6 separate regions of the Homo sapiens genome follow, and all the other regions are linked to region 1. The links are contacts of gene promoters, found by promoter capture Hi-C in blood cells and fetal thymus (Javierre and others, 2016). All regions are on one chromosome and are shown on one strand. Each heading gives the region's core, a stretch centred on a gene start or on the middle of the fragment in contact. The rest is flanking DNA. Distances are from core to core; before and after follow the strand shown.

Region 1 (3,689 bases), core at 972-3,471:
AGATTCTCGGTGCTGCTAAACAGGACACACAAGGACACCATTTTGTGATGATGATGGTGCTTTATGCAGCTTCCACCATTTACAAGATTTTCCTGTGGTGTGGAACCTCTCATGATAAAGCAAAGGAACTAGAAGCTTATTCCAGTCAAGATTTCTGATTTATCTTGTGGTAAGCATTTGGGAAGGACATATCTGCACATGACCTGAGACTAAGTACTATACACTGAATCAGATGAAAATTGCTCTTAGGAAGCTTACAATTTTCCAAATAGTTAGGACAAAAACAAACTCTCCTTCTCTCTTCCTATATGTACATACTGACATCTTTATCATTACTGTCTTCCTAGGGTTATGATTCTGTATGGTTTCTTTGGTGCTGCATTAGACCTGAGCTCTGATTGAAAATTCTTCCACGCTCGCTACATTCCAAAACTTTATCTCCAATATGAATTTCCAGATGCCTCACAAGGTCTGAGCTCCATCTGAAGGCTTTCCCATGCTTGTCACATTCATAGGGCTTTTCTCCACTATGAATTCTATGATGTCGAATAAAGTGTGAGCTCTGATTACAAGTCTTTGAACATTCATTGCATTCACAAAGTTTCTTTCCACTGTGAATTCTTTGATGCTGAATAAGTTGTGAGCTCCCCTTCAAATCTTTCCCACACCCAATGCATTTATAAGGCCTCTCTCTCACCTTGTATGGATTCTCTGATGTTCTGTAAGGACTGAGTTCTGGCCAGGCGCAGTGGCTCACGCCTGTAATCCCAGCACTTTGGGAAACCGAGGCGGGTGGATCAGCTGGGCTCAGGAGTTCGAGACCAGCCTGGCCAGCATGGTGAAAGCCCCTCTCTACTAAAAATACAAAAATTAGCCGGGTGTGGTGGTGGGTGCCTGTAATCCCAGCTAATTGGGAGGCTGGGGCTGGAGAATTACTTGAACCTGGGAGGTGGAGGTTGCAGTGAGCCGAGATCGGGCCACTGCACTCCAGCCTGGCAGCAGTGTGAGACTCCGTCCCAAAAAATAACAAACAAACAAAAAAGACACCAGAGGGCTTTGGGTCCCTCTCTCTCTGCCATGTGAGGACCCTGTGAGAAGGCAGCCAGGGAGCTCTCACCAGAACCTGACCATGTTGGGCCCTGGTCACAGCCTTGCAGCCTCCAAAACTGAGAAAATAAATTTCTGTTGTCTGGCATCCAGTCTATGGTATTTTGTTACGGCAGCCCGAGCTAAGACAGAGGAAAACTGGGGGCTGATGTGACGGCGGGGACTTTAGGTAGAAGGACCCCACGTCAAAAGTCAAAGCTAAAAATTCTGGAACGAGCCAGGAAGGCATCAGGACGTCTCATTTTATTTGCTAGAGGCATCTTTTGGGGGGTGGGGCGGTGGGTGGGTGGAAGGAGATGTGGCCAGTGAGCCTCTGACTTTTAATTGAGTTATTTCGAAACAAGGAACAGAGGGCCGGATGTGGTGGGTCGTGCCTGTAATTCCAGCACTTTGCGAGGCCGAGGCCAGTGGATCACCTGAGGTCAGGAGTTCAAGACCAGCCTGGCCAACATGGTGAAACCCTCTCTCTACTAAAAATACAAAATTAGCCTGGCGTGGTGGGGGGCGCCTGTAATCCCAGCTACTCGGGAGGCTGAGGCGGGACAACAGCTTTAACCCGGGAGGCGGAGGTTACAGTGAGCCGAGATGGCGCCACTGCACTCCGGCTTGGGCAACAGAGCAAGACTCCGTCTCCAAAAACACACACACACACACACACAAAACCCAAAACGGAACAGAGGCAGTTCTGTATTCCAGAGGGATTGATTTGTGATGCCTGCTCAAAACTCAAGAAGCCACCACCCTGATACTCATCAAACCCCGGAGAAATTTCGTTTTTAGAGTGTCAGAAGGCCCCATGAATAACCTTCCAGTCACTGAGGGAGGTCCCTACTCAGCACGCCCCGGTCTCCTTCACTCTCCTGCACTCGTGCCTCACAGATGGCCTCATGCGCGGACTGGCGGTCCAGCCTCCCGGGGACACAGCCCGGGCGCACCCCGCGCCGCCTTTGGCCACTGAGGCGGTCCTCGAGGCGCCGGGCTAGGGAAAGCCTCCCCGGCCGTCAAGGCTGGGATAGCGCCGGGGGATCGGGGCGGGGTGCGTGCGCCGAAAGGGCCTCAAAGCTGTAGGGCTGGACGGCACAAAGGGGCGCAAGGCACGGAGGCCAGGCAGAGGGGACAGCTAGCGGCGCGGCGGGACGGGCGGGCCCCGACGCCCAGCTCCAAATGCGTGGCCGCTGTGGGAGCTCGTCTCCAGGCGCCCATCAGTCTTCCCCTCACTCGACGCTACCTTGGCGGCCGCGCCCATGCTGTCCCCGCTCCAACTAGCAGTCAGGAGGGGCCGCGGGCAGCGCTCGAGACGCTCATTGAGAGGACTTCCCGCCTGCGGGCTCTCTGCTCGACGCCACTCCCGGCCCCGCTCCGGGCGGCCCCCCTCACCACTCCCGGCCCCGCTCCCGGCGGCCCGCCTCACCACTCCCGGCTTCCCGGGGCTTAGGCCCGCACCATCGAGTCGAACCGAGTCCTCATGTTTTCCTAGACAAGCCGCTGGGGGAGAGGGGAAACACTTCTGGCCCATGTGAGCCGCCGTCTCGTGTGGTGTCTGAGGGGCGTCTACCTGGAGTCACTGAGCCGACGAAAGGGAAAAGGCCAGTGCCTGTCCGGGAAGAGCTCAGCCTAGTGGGGCGGGCGACAAGTTACAGTTGCTGCCTTACGATGGCCGTGGCCCGTGGAGGCACTAGACCCTCACCAGGGGTCTGTCAGGAAAGGCGGGCAGATACGTGAGGCCTGAACAGGAAGGAACTGGGAGACCCAAGACTGTACCGCCAAGACCGCTTTCGAGTCGGGCCGACCGGAATTTGAATTCGTTTCTTCACTTACTAGTTGTGAGTCTTTGGGCAAATTTGCCTTTCTAGAGCGTAGTTTCTTATGTATAAAACAGGGTTAACAGTTGCACTCACTGAGGTAAATACAAGAGAAAATTGATGGTAAGTGCTTATCACGGTACCCAACACATAGCAAGTACTGAAAAGTGATGGAGCTAGGTACGGAGGGAGCAATCTTCACAGAGGGAACAGCTCGTGGAAAGGCCACAGGGCAAGAGGGCGGTGCCTACATTCTTGGGGAACTGCAGAGAGTTCATGGGTAAATAATAGGAAGGAAAGGTAAGTACTTTGCAGAAAGCCTTCCCCAGCTAGGTGAGACTCCCCACTGTAGTATCATATGCCTCTCCTTTTTGGCACTTATGGTTGCAACTTTATTAATGATTCTAATTAGTTTCTCTTCTACAATTATAAGTTCCATCAGGCCAGAGACTTGTCCATTTATGCTCACCCTGCTTTGTAGCACCCGCTGCTTAACACATATTAAAAGCTCGATAAGCCTGGGCGAGGGGGCTCAAGCCTCTAATCCCAGCACTTTGGGAGGCCGAGGCGGGTGGATCATGAGGTCAGGAGTTTGAGACCAGCCTGACCAACATGGTGAAACCCCCTCTCTACAAAAAATACAAAAATTAGCCGGGTGTGGAGGCACACACCTGTAATCCCAGCTACTCAGGAGGCTGAGGCAGGAGAATCACTTGAACCCGGGAGGCAAAGGTTGCAGTGAGCTGAGATTGCACCACTGCACTCCAGCCTGGGCGACAG
Region 2 (3,605 bases), core at 431-2,930, 290 kb after region 1:
TTTTTCAAAATACACACTTAAATGAGAGCCTGTTAAACTATGCCTCGTTTTAACTACCATCTATATTCAAAGACTACCAAATCCTTTCTTCTAAAATGTAGCTTCTCTTCAAGGCTTTGGATCCCCATATTAAATTTGATTTGACAAATACTTATTATTGAGTGCTAGATGATACTCCCAGTGAATGATGGTTTAGTTGATGAGGCAGACATTTAACCAGAATTACTATACCATGTGATAAGTGCAACAACAGAAGGATTTATGGTGTACAAAGGAATGACAAAAAGATACAAAGATAATGAAGAAAGCTATAAAAAATAAATGAGAAAAATGAGAAAGAATGATTTCTGGGAAGGGGATTGTTGAGCATTCCAAGCTAGAGATCAGTTTATGCAAAGTCCTGGAAACATGAAAGACAAAGAACTAAGAACAAGAAAACTTATTTAGTATGATGGGAGGCAAAGTACAAGGTGGAAGGCAACGGCAAAATAGCTAGACAGACATCCAGGACTGGCTTATGAAGTACACAGTCTTGTGTGCTATGTTAAACTATTTGAAATCTATCTGCCGGGTAACAGTATATCACTAGAGGTTTAAATCAAGCGATGGAGCCTCACTTTACAAATCAGTCTGGTATTAGGGAGGAAGACATGGAAGGGTCCAAAATGGGATTTGGGGAAACTATTTAAGAAAATAAGCCAGGCAGATGGTGAAGTAGGCAGATGATGCAGTTCTGAAGCAGGGACAGAGGAATGCAGAGAAGGGTGTATAATCAGGGGTGTCCAATCTTTTGGCTTCCCTGGGCCACACTGGAACAATTGTTTTGGGCCACACAGAAAATACACTAACAATACGTGATGAGCTTTAAAAAAAAAAGAAAAGAAAAGAAAATCGCAAACAAATATCATAATGTTCTAAGAAAGTTTACAAATTTGCGTTGGGCTGCATTCAAGGCTGTCCTGGGCTGCGCGCAGCCCGTGGGTTGGACAAGCTTGGTGTATACTTTCGAAAAATTTAAATCACAAAATCAATAGAAATTTGGGACTGATGAAATGTAAGGATGAAGAAAACTTTTGGGTTTTGGGCTAACGTTACTAGGCAGATCATGGTTTGGACAAATGAGGGCTCAGCAGCAAGAGGAGAAAGGGTAAGGGAAGGTACTAAAGTTACCACAAAATCCTCCTGAGATCATGTGTGAAAGGCAGAGAACATTTCTGCCAAGGAGAATGCACTCAACAGTGAATCCTCACCATTCTGTAACCTACCGAGCTCTTTCATCTTTCTAATCTTTATGGTTTTGCGTACTCTCTTCTCTCTCCTGTACCCACTTCTGATTCTGTCTAGTGAATCCTTCAAGTTCAAGCTTTTGTAATAGCATTTCCTTAAAGTCTTCCAAGATGAGCAGGCCTACTCATTTACTCCATCACACTCCTGAAGAACCCGGTGATGCCCTGAGCACATGACACTGTACTATAGTTACTGGTTTAGTTGTATGCCCTTCTGGTAGTTAAGGAACCACATGGCAGGAACCTTGCCTTCAATCTTGTATTTCCATCTTCTGCCAGAGTGGGTCCTGAATAAGTATCTGTTAAGTCGATTTACAAGCGAATAAACTCTAATGCTCAGCCCTTAGCCTTATGCCTCTGCAGTTTTCCCTCAAATTCTTATCCTGTATAGACTCTCTCACCATGAAAGATGATTCTCATACCTCTATTTTAATTCTTCTTGTCTGTCATCATCCTGTATTTCCAACTGTCCATGGAATATTTCCATTTTATTGGTCCAATACTATCTTACACTGATTTACTTAGAAATAAATCTTCTCCCCCAATTAGCAGCCTTTACTGACCTGTTTCTGTTCATGGCATACTCCCTTATCCAAACAGTAACTAAGTCTTATTTATCCTTCCTTTGTTGTTATCTACTGTGTTTCATTTTTCCCTCTGTTCTATTACCACCCAAGTTCAAACTCTCATAAATGACAAGCTCAATTTTGCAAAAGCTTCTTTAAAAGTCTCTGTCCCAGTCCCCTCCCTAACCAATTGTTTTGTCCTTCTGTTCAGAAACCATCACTGGCTTCCTACTACCCTATTCCTACAGAAAAAAAACCCACACTCACTCTTTTAACGAGGTATTTTTAATTCCAGCAAATTTTCTCGGGACAGATACTCCAGCTTTATCACTTAATGCTCCCTACATGAATCCTCAGCTCTAGCCCAGAATGTCTAATAAATTAAGCTTGAATGACACTTGCACTTGCTTATTTTCAGACGCTACTTTATGCTGCCCTTGACAGAAATGGTCTCACTCTTCCTTGATACTTCATTTAATCCTGAATGAGACCTTTAAGTCACACATGACACCACTCCTTCTCTACGAAAATTTCCTTAACCTCCCAGTCAGAATGATCTCTCCTTCCTCGGGGTTCTTACTGTCTGTGTACCAATACTGTGGTATGGATAGTATTTTTTCATGTGTATGTATCTTTCTCCCCACAACTGGGACATAAGATACCAGATTACCACGCCTACGTGGTGTCTTGTTCATATAAGATAAACAATAAGCACTTGTTCGGATAACTAGAATTTGTGAACACAAATCCAGGCCTATCATAAGTGATTATCCAAGAATTCTATAGAACTTACCCAAATAATATGAAGAAATGAAAGGCCAAATGACCTGTACTAACTCTTTCTCAAAAATATGCAAGCCAAGCATGTGAAGGCTGCAACATTTCCACAGACTCAAAAACATGGCTCCCAAGTCCAGCCTCAATGATATCTACTGGAGCCCAAACTGAGTTTTCATTTCAGGTGGGTGACCACCTCAACTTACCTGTGTAACAGACTGATGTATGTCAGGAAAGTCTCTCCATTTTCATATAAGATGTACAGTGGGTATGCCACTACTTCATCTTTGCCGTTTTGTCCAAATAGAGTCTTTGGGACTGCTGCCAATGGCCCAAAGTCAAATGCAACTGCTGTCTCTCCTAGAGATGCGGTATACGCCCTTCTGGAAAGAGATGTAAAAACCAACTTGTTAAAAACAAAAACAACAAAAAGTAAAAAGAAAAACAAAACAAAACAAAAACACAAAATGTCTAATAACAGGAGGTGGGTATGTATGGAATTTGTAGGCAATGGACTGAAAAGACAAAAAATGATTATGAAGAATGTTAACATTTAAAAATTCTCAGCTGGGTGCAGTGGCTCATGCCTGTAATCCCAGCAATTTGGGAGGCCGAGGTGGGTGGATCACCTGAGGTCAGGAGTTCGAGACCAGCCTGGCCAACATGGTGAAACCCCGTTTCTACTAAAAATACAAAAATTAGTTGGGCGTGGTGGCAGGTGCCTGTAGTCCCAGCTACTTGGGAGGCTAAGGCAGGAGAATTGCTTGAACCTGGGAGGCGGAGGTTGCAGTGAGCCGAGATTGTGCCATTGCACTCCAGCCTGGGCGACAAGAGCGAAACTCCGTCTCAAAAAAAAAAAAAAAAAAAAAATTCTCATGAAATTAAGTGAAAAAAGCTGGCCATAAAATTATTTGGTTCTACTCTCATCTTAAATAGTTTAAATACACAGATATACAAATAGCAAAAATTTATTATA
Region 3 (3,435 bases), core at 932-3,431, 320 kb before region 1:
AGTAGAGGGGTTTCACCGTGTTAGCCAGGATGGTCTCAGTCTCCTGACCTCGTGATCCGCCTGCCTCAGCCTCCCAAAGTGCTGGGATTACAGGCGTGAGCCACTGCACCCGGCAGGTCTTTTCAACAAATGGTGCTGGAACAACTAACTGACTATCCATATGCAAAAGCATGGATTTGGACTTCTACTTCACATCACATACAAAAATTAACTCAAAATGGACCACAGACCTAAAAATGTAAGAGCTGGCACTATAAACTTTCATGCTTCAAAGAACACCAATGAAGGACATGAAAAGACAATCCAATGGGAGAAAATATTTTCAAATCATGTATCTGATGTTTCTAGTACCTAGAATATTAAAAAGGACCCTTACAACTCAACAATAAAAAGACAAATAGAGCCAGGCACAGTGGCTCATGCCTGTAATCCTAGCACTTTCGGAGGCCGAGGCGGGAGGATCACCTGAGGTTAGGAGTTCGAGACCGGCCTGGCCAACATGGCGAAACCCCATCTCTTTAATAAAAATACAAAAATTAGCCGGGCATGGTGGCGCATGCCTGTAATCCCAGCTACTTGGGAGGCTGGGGCAAGAGAATTGCTGGAACCCGGGAGGCGGAAGCTGCAGTGAGCCGAGATCACACCAGTATAAAAAGACAAATAGAGGCCGGGCGCGGTGGCTCACGCCTGTAATCCCAGCACTTTGGGAGGCCGAGGCGGGTGGATCATGAGGTCAGGAGATCGAGACCATCCTGGCTAACAAGGTGAAACCCCGTCTCTACTAAAAATACAAAAAAAATTAGCCGGGCGCGGTGGCGGGCGCCTGTAGTCCCAGCTACTCGGGAGGCTGAGGCAGGAGAATGGCGTGAACCCGGGAAGCGGAGCTTGCAGTGAGCCGAGATTGCGCCACTGCAGTCCGCAGTCCCGCCTGGGCGACAGAGCGAGACTCCGTCTCAAAAAAAAAAAAAAAAAAAAAAAAAGACAAATAGAGCTGGGTTCAGTGGCACACACCTGTAGTCCCAGCTACTTGAGAAGCTGAGGCGGGAGGATCACTGGAGCCCAGGAGTTCGAGGCTGATATAGTGCACCATGATCCCATCTGCACTCCAGCCTGGGAAACACCGCAAGACAAACCCACCCCACACACACACCCCACCCTCGTCTCAAAAAAAAAAAATTAAACCCCAAAAATATATTAAACAAAAGACATATCCCAATTTTAGAATGTGCAAAGAACTTGAAAAAACATTGCATCAAAAAAGACATACAAATGGCCAATTATCTCATGGAAATATGCTCAGCATCACTAATCATTAGAAAAATACCAATGAAAACCACAGGGTACCACTTCACACCCACTGGAATGGCTATAACTAAAAAAATGCACAATAACAAGTGTTGGTGAGGATGTGGAGAAATTGGAACCCTCACACATGGCTTGTAGGGATGTAAAATGGTGCAGTTTCTGTGGAAAACAGTTTGTCGGTTGCTCAAAATGTTAAACATACAGTTATCATAGAACCCATAAATTCCTCTGCCAGCATATACTCCTAAGTATATAACTAAAAGAAATGAAAACATGGTGTGGTCACTTTAGCCCAAAGACTCTCAGGTTTATTTTGTGGGCCCTTTGGACTGTAACTCCATAAGATCGGTACGGCGCAAGCCACTAGGACTGTTTTTTGTTTTGTTTTGTTTTTGCTTTTGTTTTGAGACAGTCTTGCTCTGTCGCTCAGGCTGGAGTGCAGTGGCGTGATCTCGGCTCACTGTAACCTCCGCCTCCCAGGCTCAAGCGATTCTCCTGCCTCAGCCTCCCCAGTAGCCGGGATTACAGGCGCGCCCCACCACGCCCGGCTAATTTTTGTATTTTTTAGTAGAGAAGGAGTTTCACCATGTTGGCCAGGCTGGTCTTGAACTCCTAACCTCATGATCCGCCCGCCTCAGCCTCCCAAAGTGCCGAACGGTTTTTGGGTTTTTTTTGGTTTTTTGGGGGGGGGGTTTTGCTGACTTTCTTGTTTTGTTTGTTGCTTGCCACGCTGCCATCAAGTGCTCACTGTCGCAAAAGAACCGTCCCCATGCAGTACTGTACTTTTCTTTTCCCTTCTGCCGTCAACCTCGGAGTAGCTTCGCTCCCAGAAGGCCTCAAAGCGCGACCAAAGAGCGTGACAGAGCGCTTTACGACAGTTGCTTTGAGGCAGTACCGGAGGAGAAAGATGGCGGCTACCTTACTAGCTGCTCGGGGAGCCGGGCCAGCACCGGCTTGGGGGCCGGAGGCGTTCACTCCAGACTGGGAAAGCCGAGAAGTTTCCACTGGGGTGAGGAAGGAATCGGGGTTCATAGGACGTGCACAAGGCCTGACGCGATGGGAAGATAAAGCCTGAGTGGGGTTGAGAGATCTGGCAGGGGTGGAGAGGAGGTGGAATGTGTTGTGCTCCAGGAATGGGGAGAGGTACCCCGAAGATGGTGGAGTGGTGCGGTAGCTTCGTAGTGGGAGGTGGAGGGTGGGCTGAAGTTTGAAATTCTGAAATCCTGCGAGGCTAGTGAGGATCTTGGGCTTAAGTACGGGATGAGTCTTTTGAGATTTGAGGGTTGGCATTCTGGTATTCTGCGGGGTGCTGAGGCCCCTATAAGATTTGAAAATGGTTCAGCGACGGACAGATTTTGTATTTTTGGAACTAGGTAGAGAGATCATTGAGGTTTGTGTCTGCTGGAGAATGTAGACTTACTCCTTTTTCCCTTTTCCCAGACCACTATCATGGCCGTGCAGTTTGACGGGGGCGTGGTTCTGGGGGCGGACTCCAGAACAACCACTGGGTGAGCTCAGGACAGATTTGTGAAAGGTCTTCCCATCTTCCTTTTCCTTTCCTGCCTGCCAGCCCACCCTGCCTGCCTCCACAGACCACTGTGGGAAGAGAGGTTTCTTCTCTCTCTGGAGATAAAGATTTGTCCCAACTTTTGTTACTTTCAGTTCCCCTCACTCGTTAGTGGAATCCTTACAAAAGTCTGTTCTCCAGCCCGCTTCAGTTTGGATGAGAATAAGCAATACTGGAGGCCAGGCACGGTGGCTCACGCCTGTAATCCCAGTACTTTGGGAGGCCGAGGCGGGTGGATCACCTGAGGTCAGGAGTTCGAGACCAGCCTGGCCAACATGGCGAAACCCCGTCTCTACTAAAAAATACAAAAATTAGCCGTGCGTGGCGGTGCGTGCCTGCAGTCCCAGCTACTTGGGAGGCTAGGGCTAGAGAATCGCTTGGACCCAGGAGGTGGATGTTGCAGTGAGCAGAGATCGCGTCACTGTACTCCAGCCTGGGCAACAGAGCGAGACTCCATCTCAAAGAAAAAGGAAAAAAAGGCAATACTGGACATCCTATCCCTGAGCCCTAAGAGAGTGGGTAGTGATGGGATGGAGGTGGAAGACAGGTGGGCTCCTTTCCTC
Region 4 (3,754 bases), core at 717-3,216, 320 kb after region 1:
ATGCGGAGCTCTGGGAGCAGACTGGGTCCAACGTCAGGGAGATGCTAGTTGGGGTGGCTGGGAAAGCAGCACACCAGAGAGCTGCGCCGTCCACACCAGGTCATGACCCAACACTGTACTGATGGCTCTTGGGCAGAATGTCTAGGGACTCTGTGGCCCTCATACTGGCTGGTTACTAGGCTGGGCACAGCACTTCCTGAAATGTTTGAAGAGTAGGCATGATCCAGTTAAAGTCTCTTATGCCCCTGCCATTCTCTCTCTCTTTTTTTTTTTTTTTTTTTTTTGAGACAGAGTCTTGCTCTGTCGCCAGGCTGGAGTGCAGTGGTGTGATCTTGGCTCACCGCAACCTCTGCCTCCCGGGTTCAAGCGATTCTCCTGCCTCAGCCTCCCGAGTAGCTGGGATTACAGGGACCTGCCACCATGCCCAGCTAATTTTTGTATTTTTAGTAGAGACGGGGTTTCACCATGTTGGCCAGGATGGTCTCGATCTCTTGACCTCGTGATCTGCCCGTCTCGGCCTCCCAAAGTGCTGGGATTATAGGCGTGAGCCATGCGACTGGACTTAGAGGAATTTTTTTTTTTTGAAAGACCAAAGAAAAACGCTCCTCCTCTAAGCCCCAGGCACAGCCTGTCAGAACTGAGGTAAAAGCTGATTATAGTATTAGCTTACCTCCTGTTCTTCAACCTTCTGCCCTTGCGAGGGTTCCTCCTCACCATCAAATGTTGGTGGGATGCTGTTGTTAATGTTGAAAGTGACCGTGATTCTAAAACGGCAAGGGAAAACAGACAAGGCAAAACAGACAAGGCATGGTTTTAACCGAGCAGGTTAACACATAAACATGGAAATCTGCTACAGTTAAAAAGGCGTATTGAAACAATGTCTCTGTCCTAGCTGGCTGAATTATATGCAGAACTTCAAACTAGGCTGGGTGCCTACATCCAATCCTGAGTGACTCAGCAGGTCTGAAGTGTGCCTACCATGTACCAGCTGCTGGAAGCCAAAGCTGGCCTCAGTTTATCTCAGCCAAACAAGTCATGCATGGGTTACTCCCAACAGGGCCAGTACCCCAGGGCTCACTGCCATGTGCTGACTGGGCATCTCATGGCCACAGCCAGCTGACACTGCCCACCCTGGTCTTTCCAGGGAACCCTTGGTCAAAGTAAGGACCTGAGAGGCTGGTGAGATGGAACAGAAGCCCCTTTAAGAGACTTTCCCCGTCAGAAAATTTGCCCTGCAAGGAAAGGAAGAAGCGATGGAGGGTGCCTCTGCTAAACACCGAGAGCAGCCCTGGAACGGGGAAGGGAATGCCTCACAAAGAACAAGGGCTGTAGTAGAGACTCATCCCTTAGAGTACTTGTGGGAAGTTTCATAATCACAAAGCAGGCCAGACACACCAACTAGTGACAATTTTAAGGTGCAAGAATCCACACCTGACAAATCATGTTCCAAAGTTTGAGTCAAAATTCTTGGGACATAAGGTTTAGAACCAAAACTGCTGGGCTATGCAACTCTGGCAGGCACCATTCCACACAAGAGTACATGAAGGCTGGGCGCAGTGGCTCACGCCTGTAATCCCAGCACTTTGGGAGGCCGAGGTGGGCAGATCACGAGGTCAAGAGATCGAGACCATCCTGGCCAACACGATGAAACTCCATCTCTACTAAAAAATACAAAAAAAAAAAAAAAAAAAAAATTAGCTGGGCGTGGTGGTACGCGCCTGTAATCCCAGCTACTCAGGAGGCTGAGGCAGGAGAATTGCTTGAACCTGGGAGGTGGAGGTTGCAGTGAGCCGAGATCACGCCACTGCTCTCCAGCCTGGAGACACAGCAAGACTCTGTCAGAAAAAAAAAAAAAAAAAAAAGAGTACATGAAGTGCCGCCCTCCACTTGTGCTAACTAGCTGCTCTGCCAGGAAGCCACCTTTCCATGGCAACAGAGGCAGTCTGAGGTTGACAAAATCTGTCTAATTCCAACTGTGCTGACTAAGCTGAGCTCCTGGGCACAGAAATTGAATGACGTTCATCAGAGCATTATTTTTAATGGCCCCCAAATAGCTATGAAAACCTTGCGCAAATGGTGTTTAGGTGAGATTACAGAAGACACAATTGACCTGTGTAGGGCAAAAACACACTATGCAACAGGCAAGAGAATCAGGACCCTACTTCACACCATATTCAAAATGAATCACAGACCTAAACTAAGAGCTAAAACTAGAAAACTTTGAAAAAATTAAGGCATACATCTTCACAACCTTGGGTTAGGCAGTGGTTTCTTAGACGTGACACTAAAAAAGCACAAGTTGCACTTGGTGAATTAGAAGCAAAGTAAAAAATAAATAAAAAAGCACAAGCGACCAAAAAAATAGGTAAACTGAACTTCCTCAAAATTAAAAACTTTTGTGTCAGAGGACATTACCAAGAAAGTGAAAAGGAAACCCACAAGATGGGAAACAGTACTTACAAATCATTAATTTGATAAGATAGTTGTACCCAGAAAAACTTAACTTTTACAACCCAACAATTAAAAAGGTAAATAGGGTGGGCAGGGTGGCTCACACCTGAAATCCCAGCACTTTGGGAGGCCAAGGCGGGCGGATCACGAGGTCAGGACTTTGAGACCAGCCTGGCCAACACGGTGAAACCCTGTCTCTACTAAAAATACAAAAATTAACCGGACGCACGCCTGTAATCCCAGCTAAGGAGGCTGAGGCAGGAGAATTGTCAGAACCTGGGAGGCAGAGGTTGCAGTGAGCCAAGATCGCACCACTGCACTCCATCCTGGGTGACAGAGCAAGACTCCGTGGGGTTGGGGGGGGAAGCTACAAATTGTATGACTCCATTTATATGAAATGTCCAAAAGAGGCAATCCCATAGAGAAAGTAGCTTAGTGATTACCTGGGGTGGCTACAGGGAGGAATAATGAGTGACTGCTAATAGGTATTGTTTGGGGATGACAACAGTGTTCTAGAATTAGGTAGTGATAACTGATGCATAATTCTGCGAGGACTAAGAACCACTTAATTTAATAAACTTCAATAAATGGGTAAATCGTATGCCATCTCAATTAAATCTCATAAAAGCTGTGATTTAAAAAAATTACATACACATCATAAGGTCAATTATGAAGGAAATTCAATTTATTTATTTATTATTGAGATGGCGTCTTGCTCTGTTGCCCAGGCTGGAGCGCGGTGGCGCGATCTCGACTCACTGCAACCTCCACCTCCCAGGTTCAAGCGATTCCCCTGCCTCAGCCTCCCGAGTAGCTGGGACTACAGGCACGTGCCACCATACCCGGTTAATTTTTACTAGAGCCAGGGTTTTAGTGTTAGCCAGGATTTTCTCCTGACCTCATGATCTGCCCGTCCCAAAGTGCTGGGATTATGGGTGTGAGCCACCGCGCCCAGGCTCAATTTAAAAACCTGGAAGATGCCAAATGTTTATCTGTGTAATGAGATTATGGATGACTATAATGCAGAAAAGTGTAAACACTTTAACAGTTTAGGAGATGATGGGGGAGCTGACTTAGGTCACAAACTCCCCACCTCTGATGGCAGCCCTTACTACAGTGTAACCCCATCCTGTTACATAGAAGTTACATATTTTTCATTTTCACCCATACTAAACATTAGAGAGCAGTGTCCTATTTTATCAGGGCTGTAAATCAGAGATCAAACTGATTCTGCCAGTACTTTTTTGCACTACATTTTTGTCTCCTTAGTAACCAGCCCACAGCAAATTTGTGTTCGGTGAAT
Region 5 (3,510 bases), core at 1-2,500, 380 kb before region 1:
TACAGGCATGCGCCACCATGCCCAGCTAATTCTGTATTTTTAGTAGAGACGGGGTTTCTCCATGTTGGTCAGGCTGGTCTCGAACTCCTGACCTCAGGTGATCCACCCGCCTCGGCCTCCCAAAGTGCTGGGATTACAGGTGTGAGCCACCAAACCCAGCCTTTATTTTTTAAATATAGGAGATGGGGTCTCACTATATTGCCCAGGCTGGTCTCGAAGTCCTTAGTTCAAGTGATCCTCCCACCTCAGCCTCCCAAAGAGCTGAAATTACAGGAGTGAGCCACCATGCCCAGCCCCCAAATTTTTTTATAAAGACAGTATCTCACTATGTTCCCCAGGCTAGACCATTCAGTTTAACTGAGTCTAACCTTCATGTGCTAACCTTGGGCAAACTAGTTTCATTCTTGATAATCTACTATAAACTGTTACAAACGATCTTTCCAAAAAAGGTAATTCTGGTCATAACACACTTCTTAAAAACCCTTTAAAGGCTCAAATGTCTTCAGACTCAAGTCCAAAGTACATAGCTTGCAAGCCTTTTCCTGATTCCGCTCCTCTCTCCAGCCTCACCATTGTCATACCTAACCCCCACCACGCTCCGTTCACTCCAGGCAGGCAGAATCCCTTGCTGGACTCCACATGCGCTGTTCCCGTCACAGCACCATGCTGTTGCCTATGCCGTCTCCCTTTTCCACTACAAGCTTTCATCCACGTAGTTCACCTTTAAGATTCAGCTCACGCCTGTAATCCCAGCACTTTGGGAGGCCGAAGAGGGTGGATCGCTTGAGGTCGAGTTCGAGACCAACCTGGCCAACATGGTGAAACCCCGTCTCTACTAAAAATACAAAAATCAGCCGGGCGTGGTGGCGGGCGCCTATAATCCCAGGCACCCGGGAAGCTGAAGCAGGAGAATCGCTTGAACCTGGGAGGTGGAGGTTGCAGGGAGGGAGATCTTGCGACTGCACTCCAACCTGGACGACAGAGTAAGACTGTCTCATAAATAAATAAACTTGTGTAGAATAAACTAGAGGCCACAGACAGTGTCAAGAAGATGGACAGGTCTGAATGGCCTCGGGCTAGGGGATATTCCACTGTCGCCTCTGACTACGGGTGGTCCTGTGGCTGAGGCGCAGCGGGCCCTGGGAGTTGTAGTTCATCAAGCGGACCGAGGAGGCGAGGCTGCGCTGAGCATCCTGGGAATCGTAGTGCTCGCTACACGGTGCCCTCTGCGCAGGCGCACACCGAGAGCCACTTCCGGAACAAGCGTCGCGTTTCTGAGGAGAAACTCTTGGTGAGAATTCCCAGAGTGATAATGGCTACCTACAGCCTGGCGAACGAGAGACTACGCGCTCTGGAAGACATTGAACGGGAAATCGGCGCCATCCTTCAGAATGCAGGTTCGGGATGCGACAACCTGGACAGCGGGGAGCGAAAGCGTGACCGGGCTGCACTGGCAGCCTGACCTGGGACTTGGAGCAGGGTTGGGGAGGGAATCCTACGTGCGTGCGCAGCGAAAGGGCGGGACTGAGAGGGGCTGGCCTAGGGAGAGGCTACACTGGCAGTCTCCGTGTGTCCCCGCCCTCTCTCCGCCCTGGCAGGTACTGTGATCCTAGAATTGTCCAAGGAAAAAACTAACGAGCGGCTCCTAGACCGGCAGGCGGCGGCCTTCACCGCTTCAGTGCAACACGTGGAGGCGGAGCTGTCAGCTCAGATCCGCTACCTCACCCAGGTCGGTGTGTCTGGGGGGTTCTGCGAGCGAACCCCAGCTCTGGGTCAAAGCCTCAGGCTTGGGTGATCCAGGGTGGAGCATTAACTGGGCAGGACCAGACCTCCCCAGCCGGCCATCCAGAGCGGGTTTCTTCCTCTAAAAGGAAAGAATGGGCCGGGCGCAGTGGCTTGACAGAGTTCGAGACCAGCCTGGCCAACACGGTGAAACCTCGTCTCTACTAAAAATATAAAAATTAGGCCAGGCTCGGTGGCTCACTCCTGTAATCCCAGCACTTTGGGAGGCTGAGGCGGGTGGATCATCTGAGGTCAGGAGTTCGAGACCAGCCTGGCCAACATGGTGAAACTCCGTCTCTACTAAAAATACAAAAATTAGCTGGGCTGGTAGCGGGCACCTGTAATCCCAGCTACTTGGAAGGGTGAGGCAGGAGAATCGCTTGAACCCAGGAGGTGGAGGTTGCAGTGAGCCAAGATTGCAGCACTGCACTCCAGCCTGGGTGACAAAGCAAGACTGTCTCAAAAAAAAAAAAAGCCGGGCTTGGTGGTGAGTACCGGTAACCCCAGCTACTTGGAAGGCTGAGGCAGGAGAATCGCTTGAACCCAGGAGGCGGAGGTTGTTGTACTTAGCCGAGATCATGCCATTGCACTCCAGCCTGGGTAACAGAGCAAAAACTCTGTCTCAAAAAATAATAAATAATAAAATGAAAGAATTAAAGGTGGCCCTGCATACCTCACTGGGTAACATCACATGTGCCTAGCAGAAGATGTGTAAATAATGCTAGAACTACAGAACTTTGTCACTGGAAACTTGGCCTGACCTCCAGGCCACGAGGTCCCAAATCCTTATATCCTGAGAAGAGGGACAGGATTGAGAAGGTTCTGAAATCGTCGCAGGGACCACTACCATTACTAATTTTTACGGTGTGCCAGATACTCTGCATTACTTTATCTAATCCTCAACAACTCTAGGAAGTAGTTATTGTCACCCCCATTTTACAGACAAGATTAACATAAGTTAAATGATTTATTTACCCAGCTACCAGATGGCCTAACAAATTCAAACTCAGGGAAGAAATGAGACGAGACCTGATGCCTGGTTGGAGTTAGGGTAAAGGAGATGGTGCTCCATTGATAGTCTGTCTTGTAGGTGGCCACAGGGCAGCCCCATGAGGGCTCCAGCTACTCTTCGAGGAAGGACTGTCAGATGGCTCTGAAGCGAGTGGACTATGCCCGCCTCAAGCTCAGTGATGTGGCTCGAACCTGTGAGCAGATGCTGGAGAACTAGGCCAGGGAGATGGACCCAGAGCTGAGAGGGAGACCATCACCTGTGCCATGGGACAGAACCTGGGAACATGTAGGGTGGGGAGTATGAGCACCAACATACCCTGCTGGTCAAAGTACCCTAGGACAAAGGGGCAAATGGTGGGCATGGAAAAACTGAAGCCCGAGCCTGCCCACAGCTATGCTTTGGCCTCTCCAGCAGGGTGCTCCTGCTCTGCACTCCAGAAACACCCTGACAGGCTCAGAGAGGAGATGGAAACTGACATACCCAACCCACTTCCTCAAACACTTCATGCTGCTGCCCCAGCCTTCCCGCAGACTTGGCCTAATGAAAATACATACTTCTTCATTCGGAGAGACAAAACAAGAACTAGAGTTTTAATGATAATAAAAGCAATAATAATAAAAGCAATAACAATAAAAACAAGATCAGACTCTCACTGGGGTAGGCAAGGGACTGAGGAGGTGAAACCAACCCGTATGGTGTCCCAGCACGGCACCTGC
Region 6 (3,430 bases), core at 465-2,964, 340 kb after region 1:
TGTCACCGCGCATTTTATTCCTGCACCTCCTCAGTGCGCTGATCTGGCACCTGGGTATCCCATCCCATACACCTTATCTGGAGCCTGGTAACAGGTACAGACCTCGCTGGTGGATCCGTCTGGGTGCCCAGAATAGGGCTGGACAGAAGAGGTGGTGCACTCACCTTTGGGGCCCCTTGGAAGACTCGGAGCTGCTGTGCATAGGGCAGGGAGGCGTACAGAGGAAGGACCAGCATCGCAGGGCAGCCGTCTGGGAGGTGCTTTGCAATGTCTCGGCACGTCTTGCTCATGGCTTCGATCTCCTCCTGCCCAGTGAGGAACACCAGGATGTCCTGTGAAGAAGGGGCTTCCTGTAAAAAAAGTAGAGTGGGTTTACTAGGCATTGATAGAATTGCAGCTTGCACAGAAAAAGACAATGGTGATTGATGATGTTTCCCAGAGTTATTTCTCTTAACTATAGAAATGTAAATGAGCCTAAAAGTTGATGTCTAGCTTGGAGAGAACCCTTACCAGCAGTGTGTAAATGGTAACAGGCTGGGTGTGATGGCTCACGCCTGTAAACCCAGCACTTTGGGAGGCTGAGGCGGGAGGATCGTTTGCAGCCAGGAGTTTGTGACCAGCCTGGGCAACGCAGCAAGATCCCATCTCTACAAAACACTTTTTTTTAAATTGGTCAGGGGTGGTGACACATGCCTATAGTTCCAGCTGCTTGCCACTCCACTCCAGCCTGGGCGACAGAACGAGAACCTGACTCAAAAACACAAAAAACAAAACTGTAATATATAGGAGTTAGCCAGCTATGTTTATAGGCCAAGTGATGAAATTTTGAAGGGAAATCATCAGATTGATTTTTCTAACAAGAACAATACCATGAAAAGCATAATCAGGCAAGCAAATAAAATCTGCATGAAGCTTCCTTTCTTTTATAAGCATCTTGAAAAATGAAGTTGACAAAACAGAAGGAAACTTGGGGAAATCCTAATCTATGGAAATGAACAGGCGCAGCCATGCTGGAGAAGGAGCCTTTAATGAATGACGCCGTCGAAAGCGCTTTCACACGCCCCAAAACACACACTATACTCGGACAACTGCTTGAGATACTGAGGTTAATGGGGTTCCTCACTTTCAAATGGAACAACACCCAAGTGTGAATGACATACCTAATGCCCTGATTTTTCTTTGATTTCTGATCAGATACATTAATTTGTTTGATGTAAAGTGCTTAACACTTTGGGAGGCCGAGGCGGCCAGATCACCTGAGGTCAGGAGTTCGAGACCAGCTTGACCAACATGGTGAAACCCTGTCTCTACTAAAAATACAAAAAATTAGCCAGGCGTGGTGGCGCACGCCTGTAATCCCAGCTACTCAGGAGGCTGAGGCAGGAGAATCACTTGAACATGGGAGGCGGAGGTTGCAGTGAGCCGAGATTGCATCACTGCACTCCAACCTGGGCGACAGAGCAAGACTCCATCTCAAAAAATAAATAAATAAAATGAAGTGCTTGATGGACTGGGCGCAGTGGCTCATGCCTGTAACCCCAGCACTTTGGGAGGCTGAGGCAGGCAAATGGGTTGAGGTCAGCAGTTTGAGACCAGCCTGTCCAACACAGTGAAATCCCATCTCTATTAAAAATACAAAAGTTAGCTAGGTGTGATCCCAGATACTCAGGAGGCTGAGGCACAAGAATCACTTGGACCTGGGAGGTAGAGGTTGCAGTGAGCCGAGCTCGTGTCACTGCACTCCAGCCTGGGCGACACAGTGAGACTCCATCTCAAAAAAAAAAAAAAAAAGTGCCTAATGGCAAAATAAATAGAAAAAAATTTTAATAATTATATGTATATTTATGTATATATGTAAAAATACGTATTTTTTAATATGTATTTTTTTTCAGCCCAGTATTAACAGAACAAATGTGCAGAGGGATACACAGACAGGATAAAATCTAAAACAGTCAAAACCTCATGAGTGGGAGAATTCATCAAAGCCAGTGGTAACCTAATGCACCAGCAGCCATCATTCATGAAAAATTCTCGTTTGCTTTCTGCAGCTGAACAAGGCAGACTTCTTCCCCAAACACTATGAAAACGACAGTAAAGGCCACTGTCTTAGAAAGAAAAGGCAATGAGAGATGAGGAGTCTCAACTCATTTTGGAAGAGAGGGGAAAGGGGCTGGATGACTTGGCTAGAGGGAGGAAACTACAAATTATGTTGTGGGAGAGTGAAAACTCAGGGATTGGTTCAAAGTCTGAGTATAGAGTAGTTAAAGCCTTCAGTTCCCTCTCCTACCCAGGACGGCCAGGAGACTGGGAAGCCATGGGTCTCACCACGGGAAAATGGTGACAAAGTGAAGAGTCAAGATGACAGCTGCACAAAGGCCCAGGAGAGCCACCTGCCCCAACTGGAACAGCAGCATAAAGGACTCTGAAAAGACAGACTGTGCTTGAACACAGAACTATACACGACTGGCATATGAGATGTTGGAATATTTGGGAGAAAATGAGCCAGAGCTACCCAGAAAGCTTGCACAACTGTGTTGTTCAAGAAACAAGGTACAGGGATGATGGTGTGCTACTAGCAATGTGTGGTCATAATATTCTTAGTATTGATACTGGACTCAGAAAACATCATAATAGGCCAGACACAGGTGTGCAAGCATGTAGTCCTAGCTACTCCCAATGCTGAGGTGGGAGGACTGATTGAGCCCGGGAGTTCACGACCAGCCTGGGCAACACAGCAAGATCCTGCCTCAAAAACAAAAACCTAAACAAAAACATGATAGAACTGTCAAGAGGTTGGAGATAAAGGGGGTTGGGGAGGGGCATTCTAAACTTTTGTCACCATGGTAAGAAATTAGCATATGATGCCTGATACCCATAACTCAAAAAATAGTGGTCAAAGCAAGGTAGTTTAGAAACATGAAAGCAATATGTAGAGATTGAAAGTAGGTGCCCTAAACAGCAGAAATCTGGGATGTTGAAGTAAAAACAACTGCTATTCTTTTATTATAAACCTTTTACTATAAACTACTTGACTTTTTAAAACTTTAAATCCCATATGCATCACTTATTTTAAAATAAAAATTGACTGGGCACGGTTTCTCACATCTGCAATCCCAGTGCTTTGGGAGGCTGAGTCGGGAAAATCACTTGAGGTCAGGAGTTTGAGACCAGTCCGGGCAACGTAGCAAGACCCTGTCTCTACAAAACATAAAAAAAAATTAGCCAGGTGTACTGGTGTGTGCCTGTAGTTCCAGCTACTCAGGAGGCAAAGGTAGGAGGACGGCTTGAGCCCAGGAGATCGAGGCTGTAGTAGCTGTGATTATGCCACTGCACTCCAGCCTGGGTGACAGAATGAGACCCCGTCTCTAAATAAGTAAATTAATTAAATAAAAAGTTATTTTAAAAGTTTGCCTCTGGATTTTCTCAGAAA

The links. Contacts are between HindIII fragments. The CHiCAGO score rates a contact against its expected background, and 5 or more counts as called.
Region 2: a contact is called between a fragment that was not itself captured here and the fragment with the promoter of USP6 in region 1, in 1 of 17 cell types (total B cells). The highest score is 5.2, in total B cells.
Region 3: a contact is called between the fragment with the promoter of PSMB6 here and the fragment with the promoter of USP6 in region 1, in 3 of 17 cell types (fetal thymus, erythroblasts and naive B cells). The highest score is 8.4, in fetal thymus.
Region 4: a contact is called between a fragment that was not itself captured here and the fragment with the promoter of USP6 in region 1, in 2 of 17 cell types (naive B cells and total B cells). The highest score is 7.3, in naive B cells.
Region 5: the fragment with the promoter of MED11 here is called in contact with the fragment with the promoter of USP6 in region 1 in 1 of 17 cell types (fetal thymus); the score reaches 5.5 in fetal thymus.
Region 6: a contact is called between a fragment that was not itself captured here and the fragment with the promoter of USP6 in region 1, in 2 of 17 cell types (naive B cells and total B cells). The highest score is 6.4, in naive B cells.

Annotation. Positions count from the first base shown.
Region 1 is chr17:5,113,811-5,117,499 of GRCh38, forward strand. It overlaps USP6 (ubiquitin specific peptidase 6), which reads left to right and starts at 2,222. Exons shown (of 38, transcript NM_001304284.2): 1 at 2,222-2,930. It overlaps ZNF232-AS1 (ZNF232 antisense RNA 1), which reads left to right. Exons shown (of 3, transcript NR_135658.1): 3 at 348-572. It also overlaps a transcript of ZNF232 not described here. The HindIII fragment of the contact is 5,308 bases long and covers 252-3,689 here.
Region 2 is chr17:5,405,898-5,409,502 of GRCh38, forward strand. NUP88 (nucleoporin 88) reads right to left here. Exons shown (of 17, transcript NM_002532.6): 5 at 2,836-3,012. Among named protein-coding and RNA genes, the nearest start is that of NUP88, 12 kb to the right of the region's middle. The HindIII fragment of the contact is 639 bases long and covers 1,362-2,000 here.
Region 3 is chr17:4,793,983-4,797,417 of GRCh38, forward strand. PSMB6 (proteasome 20S subunit beta 6) reads left to right here and starts at 2,182. Exons shown (of 6, transcript NM_002798.3): 1 at 2,182-2,314; 2 at 2,746-2,813. The coding sequence starts at 2,213. RefSeq lists enhancers at 1,941-2,539, 1,966-2,495. The HindIII fragment of the contact is 8,413 bases long and covers 1-3,435 here.
Region 4 is chr17:5,434,203-5,437,956 of GRCh38, forward strand. It overlaps C1QBP (complement C1q binding protein), which reads right to left. Exons shown (of 6, transcript NM_001212.4): 3 at 671-764. Among named protein-coding and RNA genes, the nearest start is that of C1QBP, 3.1 kb to the right of the region's middle. The HindIII fragment of the contact is 4,188 bases long and covers 1-3,754 here.
Region 5 is chr17:4,730,178-4,733,687 of GRCh38, forward strand. It overlaps MED11 (mediator complex subunit 11), which reads left to right and starts at 1,251. Exons shown (of 3, transcript NM_001001683.4): 1 at 1,251-1,397; 2 at 1,599-1,729; 3 at 2,873-3,430. The coding sequence starts at 1,313. The coding sequence ends at 3,010. CXCL16 (C-X-C motif chemokine ligand 16) reads right to left here. Exons shown (of 6, transcript NM_001386809.1): 6 at 3,356-3,510. RefSeq lists enhancers at 1,048-1,187, 1,087-1,906, 1,198-1,247. The HindIII fragment of the contact is 3,713 bases long and covers 700-3,510 here.
Region 6 is chr17:5,455,833-5,459,262 of GRCh38, forward strand. DHX33 (DEAH-box helicase 33) reads right to left here. Exons shown (of 12, transcript NM_020162.4): 5 at 165-350. Among named protein-coding and RNA genes, the nearest start is that of DHX33, 11 kb to the right of the region's middle. The HindIII fragment of the contact is 1,608 bases long and covers 911-2,518 here.